Regions from separate parts of the Homo sapiens genome. Here regions 1 and 3 are each linked to region 2. The links are contacts of gene promoters, found by promoter capture Hi-C in blood cells and fetal thymus (Javierre and others, 2016). All regions are on one chromosome and are shown on one strand. Each heading gives the region's core, a stretch centred on a gene start or on the middle of the fragment in contact. The rest is flanking DNA. Distances are from core to core; before and after follow the strand shown. Region 1 has its middle 18 kb from the start of ANP32D. Region 2 holds the start of TMEM106C (transmembrane protein 106C). Region 3 holds the start of ZNF641 (zinc finger protein 641).

Region 1 (3,542 bases), core at 128-2,627, 490 kb before region 2:
TGGTTTATTCTGCTTGCCAAAGAAGAAAAAAGCTGATAATTAACAGATAGTTCAGTTTTTTCAACTGATGAGAACCTAGACAGAGGGAAATATATTAATAATAACACAGCACTAATGGGCTAGACAATATGCTAAATGTTATGTGAACATCTCATTTCATCCTCACAACCAACCTAACATGGAGAACAATTGTCAAAGCCATTTTCCAGGCAAAGAAACAAAGAGAAATAGCTTTCCCAAGGTCACGGCAGGCGAGGAGCAGAGTTGGGATTCAAATTTAACCCTCTTTGGCTCCAGAGTCCATGATCTTAATCTCAAATGCTACCTGTTCACATCTCTCTTCCTTTACTAAACTGGTTCCTCTGCCGGGAAGACTTCTGCCACTCCTCGTTCTAAGACTTGCTTCTCTAGATAAGGCAGGGTCAAATGGTATCTTTCCTGTAACTATTTCCCTGACCACTTGATACAGCTTGAATTTTTCCTCCTCTGAACTCCCATAGCAATCTTGTCACACTGGTAGAGTATAACTTACTATACTGCATTACAGCTGTCAGTATAACTTTATTCCTCATTACAGTGTGAGTGTCTTAAAGGCAGAGACTCTCTCCTACTCGTCTTTATATACCCAGGGCCCAATACAGTGCCTGGAAAACAATTGTTGTTGGCTGAGCTGCTTAAAAAATGTGTTTTCCCTACTTCGTTGAGATATAGAGAAAGCTTTACAGACTTTTAAATGATAATTTATTGAGTACAAACTACTGACATAATATTAGCTAAGAGCTTTATATGCTCTTATACTTTTTGTGAGAAGAAATGAGATAATCAGTGTAAAACACTTAAAATAGCGTATGGCACATGGTAAGGATTCAATCACGTTATTTTTTAATTATTATCACTATTTAACCATTGTGAAAATTCACTGAGTAGTTACTATGATTGTTAGTGTTCTATAAATAAGGCAACTGAGTAATAGAAGGCGAAGAAACTTATTCACTGTCAAACAGACAATGAAGGACAGATTTTGATCATTTATGTGTATGTATCAAATCTTACCTCATGGATACATTTTTCATAATTTTACACAGTGCAGGGGGTATCTCTGCCTGTTCTCTAGACTTCCAGTGCCTGTTAGCTCTTCTGTACAATCATGTTGGAGCTGCTCACTGATCTTTAGGTGCTGCTCAACTCCAGGTTTTCTTGTTATTTAAATCTTTTCTTCAGCCTCTCTGCTCCAAAACCTGGAAGATCTGAAAGAAAAACTTGGCTGAATATGGTTGTGTCTCTGACAAAGACTGCTGTTCTGCTGACGTTTCTCTGAGATCTGTAACAACTCTGTCTGCATCCCAAGCCATGGGTTTGGTGAGCTGCTTAAAATTGGCAGTCAAAACTCTGATTTGACCATAAAGACATATGTATGCATATGTTCATCACAGCGCTTTTCACAATAGCAAAGACATGGAATCAACCTAGATGCCCATTAACAGTGGACTGGAAAAAGAAAATGTGGTATATATACACCATAGAATACTATGCTGCCATCAAAAAGAATAAAATCATGGCTTTTGGAGCAACATGGATGCAGCTGGTGGCCATTATCCTAAATGAACTAATACAGGAACAGAAAACCAAATCGTGCATGTTCTTATTTATAAGTGGGAGGTAAACATTGAGTACACAGGGACACAAAGAGGAGAACAATAGACACTGGGGCCTACTTGAGGTTGGAGGATGGGATTGAAAAACTGCCTGTCTGGTACTATGCTCACTACCTGGATGATGAAATCATTTGTACACCAAACTCCAGTGACACGCAATTTACCCACATAACAAACCTGCACAGGTACCCTCTGAACCTAAAAGTTGGAAGGAAAAACAAACCCAAAAGGAAGCCCCTATGATTTGAAGAAACTTGCAGTAGTCAAAACTTGTCATTCTAAAGTTGAGCCACAAGGAAGCAGTAGTGTCCTAGCTGTAAGGTCTGAAGATGCTGGCATATTTATTCTAATGCCTTCCCTAGACTTACAACCTTAAGCTTTGCATATTTCATTTACTAAGTTACTATAGTTACCCAACAGTATTTGTAAAATATGATACTTGGAATTTATGTTACAAAGAAATAATTTCAATCTTAAAAAGAGAGTCAAAGTATAATTTTGCATTTTTCTTTTAACACTTATTTTATGCTGCATAACTTTCCTCTGAGGCTGCATTAAATAAAGAAGGAAAGAGATAGAGAAGAAGGGGCAGGAGGACAGAAAGCAGGCCACAGGCTTTATTCTTAGCAATCAGACCTGCTCAGGCAAACCCCACATCTCCTAGGCCTTTCTAATCTGCCTGCAGTTTGTGATAGTCTTCATCTTTTTTCTATGTCAGGTAAAAATGACTATGCAGCCTGTCCAATCTGATTAATCGAATTAAAGAACAGTCTTGGCCGGGTGCGGTGGCTCAAGTCTGTAATCCCAGCACTTTGGGAGGCCGAGGTGGGCAGATCACGACGTCAGGAGATGGAGACTATCCTGGCCAACATGGTGAAACCCTGTCTCTAGTAAAAATACAAAAAAAATTAACTGGATGTGGTGGTGTATGCCTGTAGTCCCAGCTACTTAGGAGGCTGAGGCAGGAGAATCACTTGAACCCAGGAGGCAGAGGTTGCAGTGAGCTGAGATCGCACGACTTCTCGCCAGCCTGGCAACAGAGTGAGACTCCGTCTCAAAAAAAAAAAAAAAAAAAACAAACAAAAAAAGAGAGAGAGAGAGAGAACTGTCTTGATTTTCCTTCCTATAATTTAGAGCCCCTGATTTATTTTTCAACAATAACAGGAGTTCCCTGACCTCATGGTATCCTGATGCTCCAAAGTTACAGAAGGCTTCAAGTACAATGAATCTAAATCAAAAGAAGGCACTTCTTTTTTCAGTTTGGTTGAGAAGTAAAATATCACCTTCTTTGTTTTCTCAAGGTCAGAATAAATGAGCTGTGAACGATTACATGTATATGGATATGGATAGGTAGGTAGATAGATGAATATAGATATATGATATTATGCTTATATGTTTCATATATATTGTGTGTGTGTGTTTGATACAGGCAATGTGCAAAATATTTTGTTTTATTCTTTAAAAGATACCTTAGGTTTAAATAAACTTGAGGATAAATCCTGGCTCTTCATTATCTTTAAATTTCTAGCTGTGAGGCACTGGGCAAATTAGTTTCTTTGAATATCAGAACATGAATATACACATATATATGTGTATATGTGTATATATATGTATATATATGTGTATATATATGTATGTGTATATATATACACATTTATTTATTTCCAACTTTTACTTTAAGTTCAGGGATACATGTGCAGGATGTGCAGGTTTGTTGCATAGGTAAACACTTGCCATGGTGGTTTGCTGCACAGATCATCTCATCACCCAGGTATTAAGCTCAGCATCCACTAGCCATTCTTCCTGATCCTCTCCCTCTTCCCATCCCCCACCCTCCAACAGGCCCCAGTGTGTGCTGTTGCCCACTGTGTATCCACGTGTTCTCAT
Region 2 (3,213 bases), core at 449-2,948:
CATTTACTTGCTCTAGAAAAGAGCCAAACAATTATTTTGTAAATCCCATGTGTTGGCAGTACTTCCTTCACGTCTCACTTGAGCCTGCCACAACAAATATTCTTCTGGAATGAGACATTTTAAAAAATACTAGTGAAATTCACATGTTGGGTCTAATGAACAAGAAACAAGAGAGTGCCACAAATTATAAAACATCTATCAGTGCTGCCAGGGTAGTGATGTGGAAGTTGAAAAACCTGGGATCCTGTTCTGGCTTTACTGCATGGGCTTGGCAGAGTCGTCGAATCTCTCAAGGCCATGGTTTCCTTGCCTTTCATATGGAAGCTTTGGAGTAAATGATTTTGAAGGTCCTAACCAGCTCTAAATTTCTGTGACTCTCCAGCTAAACTGTTAAAGACTTTCTGAGGGCCAATTTGTTAATAGTAATAGATGATCCTGTACCAAGGCTAAGTATTTGTCTCTCTCTCTTGACCTGATATATTTTTCTGACCTTAGGCTGTTAAGGATTAGCTACCCATTTCCTTGAAAAGCAGCTTCCAAGATGGTTCCCCCGCAAAGCTGTCCCAATCCTTGTGACAGCGATAAAGAAATGTGCCTGTCAACAAATCCCACAACACAGAGCGAACTGAATGTTCCAAACCTCAGGAAAAGAACAAGAGTGGCGGTAAAGAAAAGAAAGGGTTGGAAAAATAAGGAGAGGAAGAGAAGTTGCAGAACTGCCCAAGTGTATTAAGTCAGTTGAGCTGGCTCCTGTCCAGGGCACTGTCTCTATTATGGTATTACTGCCTAGAAGAAAAGTTGTCTGGGCAGACAGGAGAACTCCGAGGGTACCTTGGGATTCTCATCAGGGAATCATCCCTCCATGATCACCTGTTGGAATGTAGCCTGTCCCCTGGCACGTGAGACAGGTGATGCTATCTCTCCCGGTGAATTCCACATATGGGAACTGAGCAATGGCTTCTTCCTGCTCTCGTTCAGCCAGCAAACCGTCCCTGTCATCTTCTTGCTTTCGCCTGCAGGAGGAGGGGCGAGCAGCAGCGGAATGCTGAGACCCCATGGCCGTGATATGCCACTGGTGTCATGTCCTAAGATGAAAAGAGGGAGTGCACGTTAGCGGCCCCAGTGAATCACGACAGAAATCGCTTGTTTCTATAAGAAAATTAAAAACGCAAAAATGACAAGTTGCCGCCCTGAGTGTGGTCCCAACACCTGTACGATTTCTATCGGGACCCTCATTTTGTAGTAGTGCTACCCACTCTCCTCTTACCCGCCACACACAGCCGGCGGGGGTGGGGAGGGGGAACGGGGCCTGCCTTTCACGCACCTGCCTCGATCCTCACCGCCCTGGGACTTGGGGCACCCCCGCTCCCACCTGGTCCAGCCTCGCCCCTTCCTCTTCACTATTTGTAAGCTCTATGCCCCTCCTCGAGCAACAAACAGGCACCAAATTGATAACCGGCCTTAACGATTCCCATTCCTCTCCACCCCCCAGCCCCAGGAGGCGGGCTCAGGTCACGCCCCTTGGCAAAAAGCGATGCTCTGAGCCCACCAAAGTGGCCCAGGCAGGAGCGAACGCCAGCGTCGCAGACCTGCAGGGCACGAACTCCCGGCAGCTCCTCTCCGGCCGCTCCCCCGACCACCTGCCAGCTTGAGGACTTACCAGCCTCTTCGGTCGGCGGAGCGGCACGCACTCAGCGCGCAGGCGCCAAATACCAAGCCCGCCAGGAGAACGCGGGCGCGCGCTCGCGCGTGCGCTCTTCGCGGCTCCGGAGGCCTTCCCAATATCGCAGCTGTCTGGCTCCCTCGGTTCCGGTAGAGGGCGGCAGAGAGCGCCGGGGAGCCGCGACCCTTGCTGTTGGGCCGCGGTAGTCCGCGGAGTCGGGATGATGCTCTGCTGTTCGCTAGATAGGCTGGGAAAGGCTCCAGTCAAGTTTCCAGAGCAAAACACTTCTCTGCTGCGAGAGGAGGAAGGTGCTGCCGGCTACCGAAGCCATTCTGAAATATTCTTTATAGTACAGGAGCTGTGTAGTCGCTGAGGGTACACACATGCGGAGCATTCGGATAAACTGCCTTTGCAAAAATTGTAAGTGAGAAAATTATGACAGTGAAAGAGATCTGACTTACCCAGTTCCGTCTTGCTTCTAACCTCCGAACTGCCCTTGTTCATTCCTGGGTATAGGCCAAACTAACTTTGGGAGGAATTTAGTTTATAGTTGAACTTCGAAGCAAAGATAACAGCCCTTCCCCAAAACAAACCCCCTTCTTGCCTGGGGACCAGACTGCCTTTGTAAGACTAACAAATTAGCCACAAGATTAGAAATTATGGTTTAGGAGTCATCCAGACAGAGGTCACAAGATTCCAAACCTTCCCTATTGCTCCAAGGGATAACATCACTATTGTAAAATCTAAGATCGGTGCTGGGGATATTTTTCAGACCCTGCATTCTGAGGCACCAGCTGGCAGTACCTAGACCAGTTATCTGGCTCAGCCAGTTCTGCAATCCCACCCAGGAACAGAAAACAGCAAGAAGAACCCACTTAGACCCCCCTATGATTTCATCTCCAACCTGACCAATCAGCACTCCCCACTGCCTGATACCTACCAGCCGAATTATCCTTAAAAAACCCCAGTCTCTGAATTATCGGGGAGACTTATTTGAGTGATAAAACTCTGGTATCTCATTCAGCCGGCTCTGCATGAATTAAAATCTCCATTGCAATTCCCCTGTCTTGATGAATCAGCTCTGGGCAACGGGCAAGGAGAACCCGTCCGGCAATTATATCAGAACCTGTCTTCAGTCCAGGAGGGGAACCCAGAGGCTTCATCAGACCCCTCCAATACTGTAGATAAAAGTGCTGCTGGAAGTCTCACAAGTCAGAGGGGCCCAGCCTGGGGGAAACCTTCCATGGGGAGTCCTGCTGGCTTCTCGCAGGAACGGACCCCACAGCTGAGCTTTGCAAGCCAATTAGGTGCCAAGAGGCACCAAGGAGTAGATTCATTCGGTAGTAGGGCCCCCCCTTCCCCAGACCTCCACAAAAAAGGCACGTACGTAAGAGGTTAGAAAGCACTTTTCGTTCGTTTGTTTGTTTGTTCGTTTGTTTTGAGATGGAGTCTTGCTCTGTCGACCAGGCTGGAGTACAGTGGCACAGTCTCAGCTCACTGCAACCTCCGCCTCCCGGGTTCAAGCGATTCTCCTGCCTCAGCCTCACAAG
Region 3 (3,762 bases), core at 663-3,162, 390 kb before region 2:
AAAACAGTCGAGGAGAGTTTGGGCTATTATAATATCTATCAGTTCTTTCCAAACATTCTTTTCAGGTAAAGTCAGGTTTACGTACTTGGTTATGTTCAATTTAACTCTGTGTGACGAGGCAATGCTGTGTCCAGCAGCGCCCATTTCCTTTTCCATGAGGCACACATTCTTTACTTCCCAGCCACCCTTCTGGGTAGGGCCATGTGACCATGCGCATGAGTTCTGGCTAAGGGAATGGGGTGAAAATGATACACACCACTTCCAGGACTGGCCCCTAATATCTCTGACAAGTTAACCACGGCCAGCCTCCCTTATCTGAGGGCCACAGATTTGACTACATTACCAAGGCCTCGGCATGGGAGAACCACCAAATGCAAGAAGCCTGGTCCTTCAATGAATTCAAGAAGTACAGACCCCACCCTCTGGCCCCAACCAACTTGTTACCACACTGTGACTTGTATGAACATAAGCCTTTATGGAGTTAAGCCCCGAGATACTGGTTTTGCTAGCCTACTCCAATTAACGCACCTTATATTTACCACCAGTGGTAGCATAAGTGAAAAGAACCCCTGGACTTAGTTCCAGGACCCGGGATAAAAATTCTGGCTCTACTACTACCCCGACATATCCCATGATCTGCTCCTAGAATATGCTCTATACTCTTCCCAACTGCGTGTCTACTGCATTTTCCTCTTTCATTAGACAGCCCTCCTGACTCTTCTCTGCCTCACGATTTCTGTCAGAGTGGGGGGCCTTCTCTGACCTCCGTCCCATACGTGGTCACTTCTCTTTGCTTCAAGTGCAGCGTACGTTCCTCTGTTTTAGAATCTACGTTTTTATTGCAAATATTTGTTGACATGTGCTTCCCCAGACTGTGAATCCTTTAACTCCCAGCATTTAGTTACAGTGTCTGGCACACGTAGAAAATAAATATGCATTAAACGAATGATTGTCACATATGACCTTAAGTGAGTCAATTATTTTTTAAGTCTACTAAATAAAATTTTTGAAAATTGTTGTAATGATGAAATAAGGAATGTGAATGTGACTTGTAGGTTATAAACAGATTCTAACAGCAATGGGTTTACTCACTGTTTGTAGGCCCTTCTCATCTTTTCTAGTCAAATCCATCTTAATGCTGCAAGGTAGCACTATCCAATAGAAATATAATGCAAGCCATATTTATAGCCACATTTAAAAAGTTAAAACCAGGTGAAATTAATTTTAATATATTTAACCCAATATACCCAAAATATCACTTTTTAAATTAAATCTTCTAAATCTTGGAACACATCTCTATTCAGACCAGCCACATTTCGAGAGCTCAGGTGTCACCTGCGGCTACGGCTCCCGCAAATGGGACAGCAGCCGCAAGGCCAACTTCAGATAGCAACCTGACTTCCCCTCAGGCAGAATAAGTGACTCCTCCTCAGTGCTCTCTCAAGCCCTTTATCCTATCGTGAAAACTAGAGGGTACGCTCCTTGAGGAATTCCAGACTGTTGTCTGGAGAAATCGCTCTCGGCCTCGGTCTGGCCTGTAACGGGCGGTTACGCAATTCCAGGTAATTGACGAACCCTGAGGACAGAACTCCGTGGGAGGCCCAGTAGCCAGAGCGGAAAATGGTCAGTCAGGCAAGAGTGCGGGCAAGTGGCCACAGCAGGCTGCGATTCCGGCGCCCGCCGCCCTCCAAGCGTCTCGGGCCGCACCCTCCCCACAGCGGCGGGCGCGGAGGTCCCGGGTTCGCGTTTGGGGGCGCCTGAGCCGCAGCCCCGCCCCCTCCCGTCCCTCCCTCCCTCCCTCCCTCCCACTCCTCTCCCTCCCACTCCTCTCCCTCCCACTCCCCGCACCTCCGCCGCCGCAGAGCCCCGGAAGCGGGCGGGGATTTCCTGTGCCCGCCCCGCCCCGCCCGCGCCTGCCGGGCCGCCGTCTCCGCCTGTCGCTGGCTCCGCCGGCCGCCGGCTCCCAGACGCAAGCGGAGGGCGGAGGGGAGGGGCAGGCGGCGCCCGGGAGGGAGGCACCGGGCCGCGGGCCAAGCCTACCGGGGGTGAGTGGAGCCGGGCCGGAGGGAGCTGCGGCTGGAGGGAGGGACGCCTGGCTTCCCGGGGCGGCTGGTGGGGGCTCGGTCACCCATAGGGGCTGGGAGGAGGATCGGCGCGTCTTCCGGGTTGCTGCCTTTCCCGGGGGTCTGCCCCGCTGACATTCTGTGCCCGCCTCTCGCCCTGTCTCCCCGTGCCCATCGCAACTGTCAGGCCCTGCGGGCTCCCGCCGCTGTCACTCGCGCACAGGTTACCCCGTGGCTCCCTTTCTCTTCACTTGCTCATGCCCCAGCTCATGGGAAACCTGTTTTCTGACCTCACTTCCCCTGCTCCAGTTCTGCCTTGCTCGGATTCTCTGAAATCTGACCCTTTCCAGGGGCACTGTGACAAGAAGAAGGGAAGAAGCAACCTTACCCCTGAGCAGGCTCCCGTCCCGCCCATGCCCTACCCGTGGCAGGGGCCAGGGTTCTCTGATGGACGGAGCCAACTCGTCCGTGTGCCCTTGGGCTACTCATTTTTATAACATGGCCCCTTTTCTGTTCATCAGCACTGGCTGCAGAAACTTCCTTTTGCAGGTCCCTTGCTACCCATATGTGTGAAGAAAAGGGGGAAATGAAAGCCCTAGAACCCACACTGCAGTGGGCATGGGATCATCCTGGAACCAGGAGAAACGAGGTTAGGGCTACCACCTTAACCGCCCAGGTGCTGGCTCTGCGTGAATATCTTAGGAAATGCAAGCTGAGGACAGGTACCCATCCCATCCTTTGCTGAGATTTTTGCTAGCACTTCCACGGATTTCTGTCAGTGGTATAGAAAAACTTACAGCTGGCCCAATGGGCTCTGCACAAAGAGGCTTCCCATTAAGAGACTCTGCTACCTGGGGGAGATGGAGAAAGGGTTTGAGACAAGTGTCCAGATATGTAGCTAGAGGTAAAGCCTTCAGGGAGGATTTGCACAGGAGCTAGAGAACCAGAAAGATGGGACGAAGAGGGAGAATTAGTGCCCTGTGTGTTAAAAGTGGATACAGAGCTGGAATTCAGAGAAGAGAGCTAAAATGGAAGTTTCCCTTTATTGCTTTAGCAAGAATTTTCCTTTCTCATGAAAAGTCTCTGAAAAGGAAACCTCCTAGGCTGGGAATCAGTCCAGGGTGCTCCCATGAGGCCCTGAGCCATCTTTGGACTTCTGAGATAAAAAGGGAATTTGTTTTTCCTGTGCATTGGGCTTAGGGTTCCCACCTACCTCTTTTGTCAAAGACAAATAGGCAAGAAAATAGACGACTTGACATCTGTGATTACCTACCCTGGCCTTCAAGGTTCTTGCAAGTGTTATTGAAAGGATGTAAGTAAGCCAGGATAGTTACCAAGTTTCTGACTGCTCTTGGAAGCCTTTCACTGACTCTGACTGTTTGGATATTGAATAAGAATACCCAAAATATGTTGCCAAACAGAAAGAGATTCTGAGTCTCAGATTATTTCTCTGCCATAAAGCCCTATCACAACAGAAGTGTGACCCATCCTGCTCTTAAGTTGTCTAAAGAAAAAGAAGAGCCCACTATCTGGTATTGTACACTGCAGGATTATTAAGAATTAAAAAAAAATAACCTAAATCTCTTCTCTTGCAATCAAGACCCATTTTTTTCTGTTTGACCTATATAGAGATAGAAGGGACCTCTGTTTTTATTCATTAGTAGCATCATTCATCAGCCTTCTTCTCCAGACAGAGAAA

The links. The method cuts DNA at HindIII sites, captures the fragments that hold promoters and counts their contacts. A CHiCAGO score of 5 or more calls a contact.
Region 1: a fragment that was not itself captured here is called in contact with the fragment with the promoter of TMEM106C in region 2 in 1 of 17 cell types (M2 macrophages); the score reaches 7.2 in M2 macrophages.
Region 3: the fragment with the promoter of ZNF641 here is called in contact with the fragment with the promoter of TMEM106C in region 2 in 8 of 17 cell types (non-activated CD4 T cells, neutrophils, fetal thymus and 5 more); the score reaches 11.7 in non-activated CD4 T cells.

The regions. Positions count from the first base shown.
Region 1 is chr12:48,453,286-48,456,827 of GRCh38, reverse strand. It overlaps a transcript of C12orf54 not described here. Among named protein-coding and RNA genes, the nearest start is that of ANP32D, 18 kb to the left of the region's middle. The HindIII fragment of the contact is 1,315 bases long and covers 720-2,034 here.
Region 2 is chr12:47,962,081-47,965,293 of GRCh38, reverse strand. It overlaps TMEM106C (transmembrane protein 106C), which reads right to left and starts at 1,698. Exons shown (of 8, transcript NM_001143842.2): 1 at 1,590-1,698; 2 at 871-1,085; 3 at 1-12. The coding sequence starts at 1,057. The HindIII fragment of the contact is 3,638 bases long and covers 327-3,213 here.
Region 3 is chr12:48,349,069-48,352,830 of GRCh38, reverse strand. It overlaps ZNF641 (zinc finger protein 641), which reads left to right and starts at 1,912. Exons shown (of 6, transcript NM_001172681.2): 1 at 1,912-2,045. RefSeq lists silencers at 1,402-1,481, 1,762-2,191 and enhancers at 1,157-1,893, 2,332-2,401. The HindIII fragment of the contact is 6,093 bases long and covers 1-3,762 here.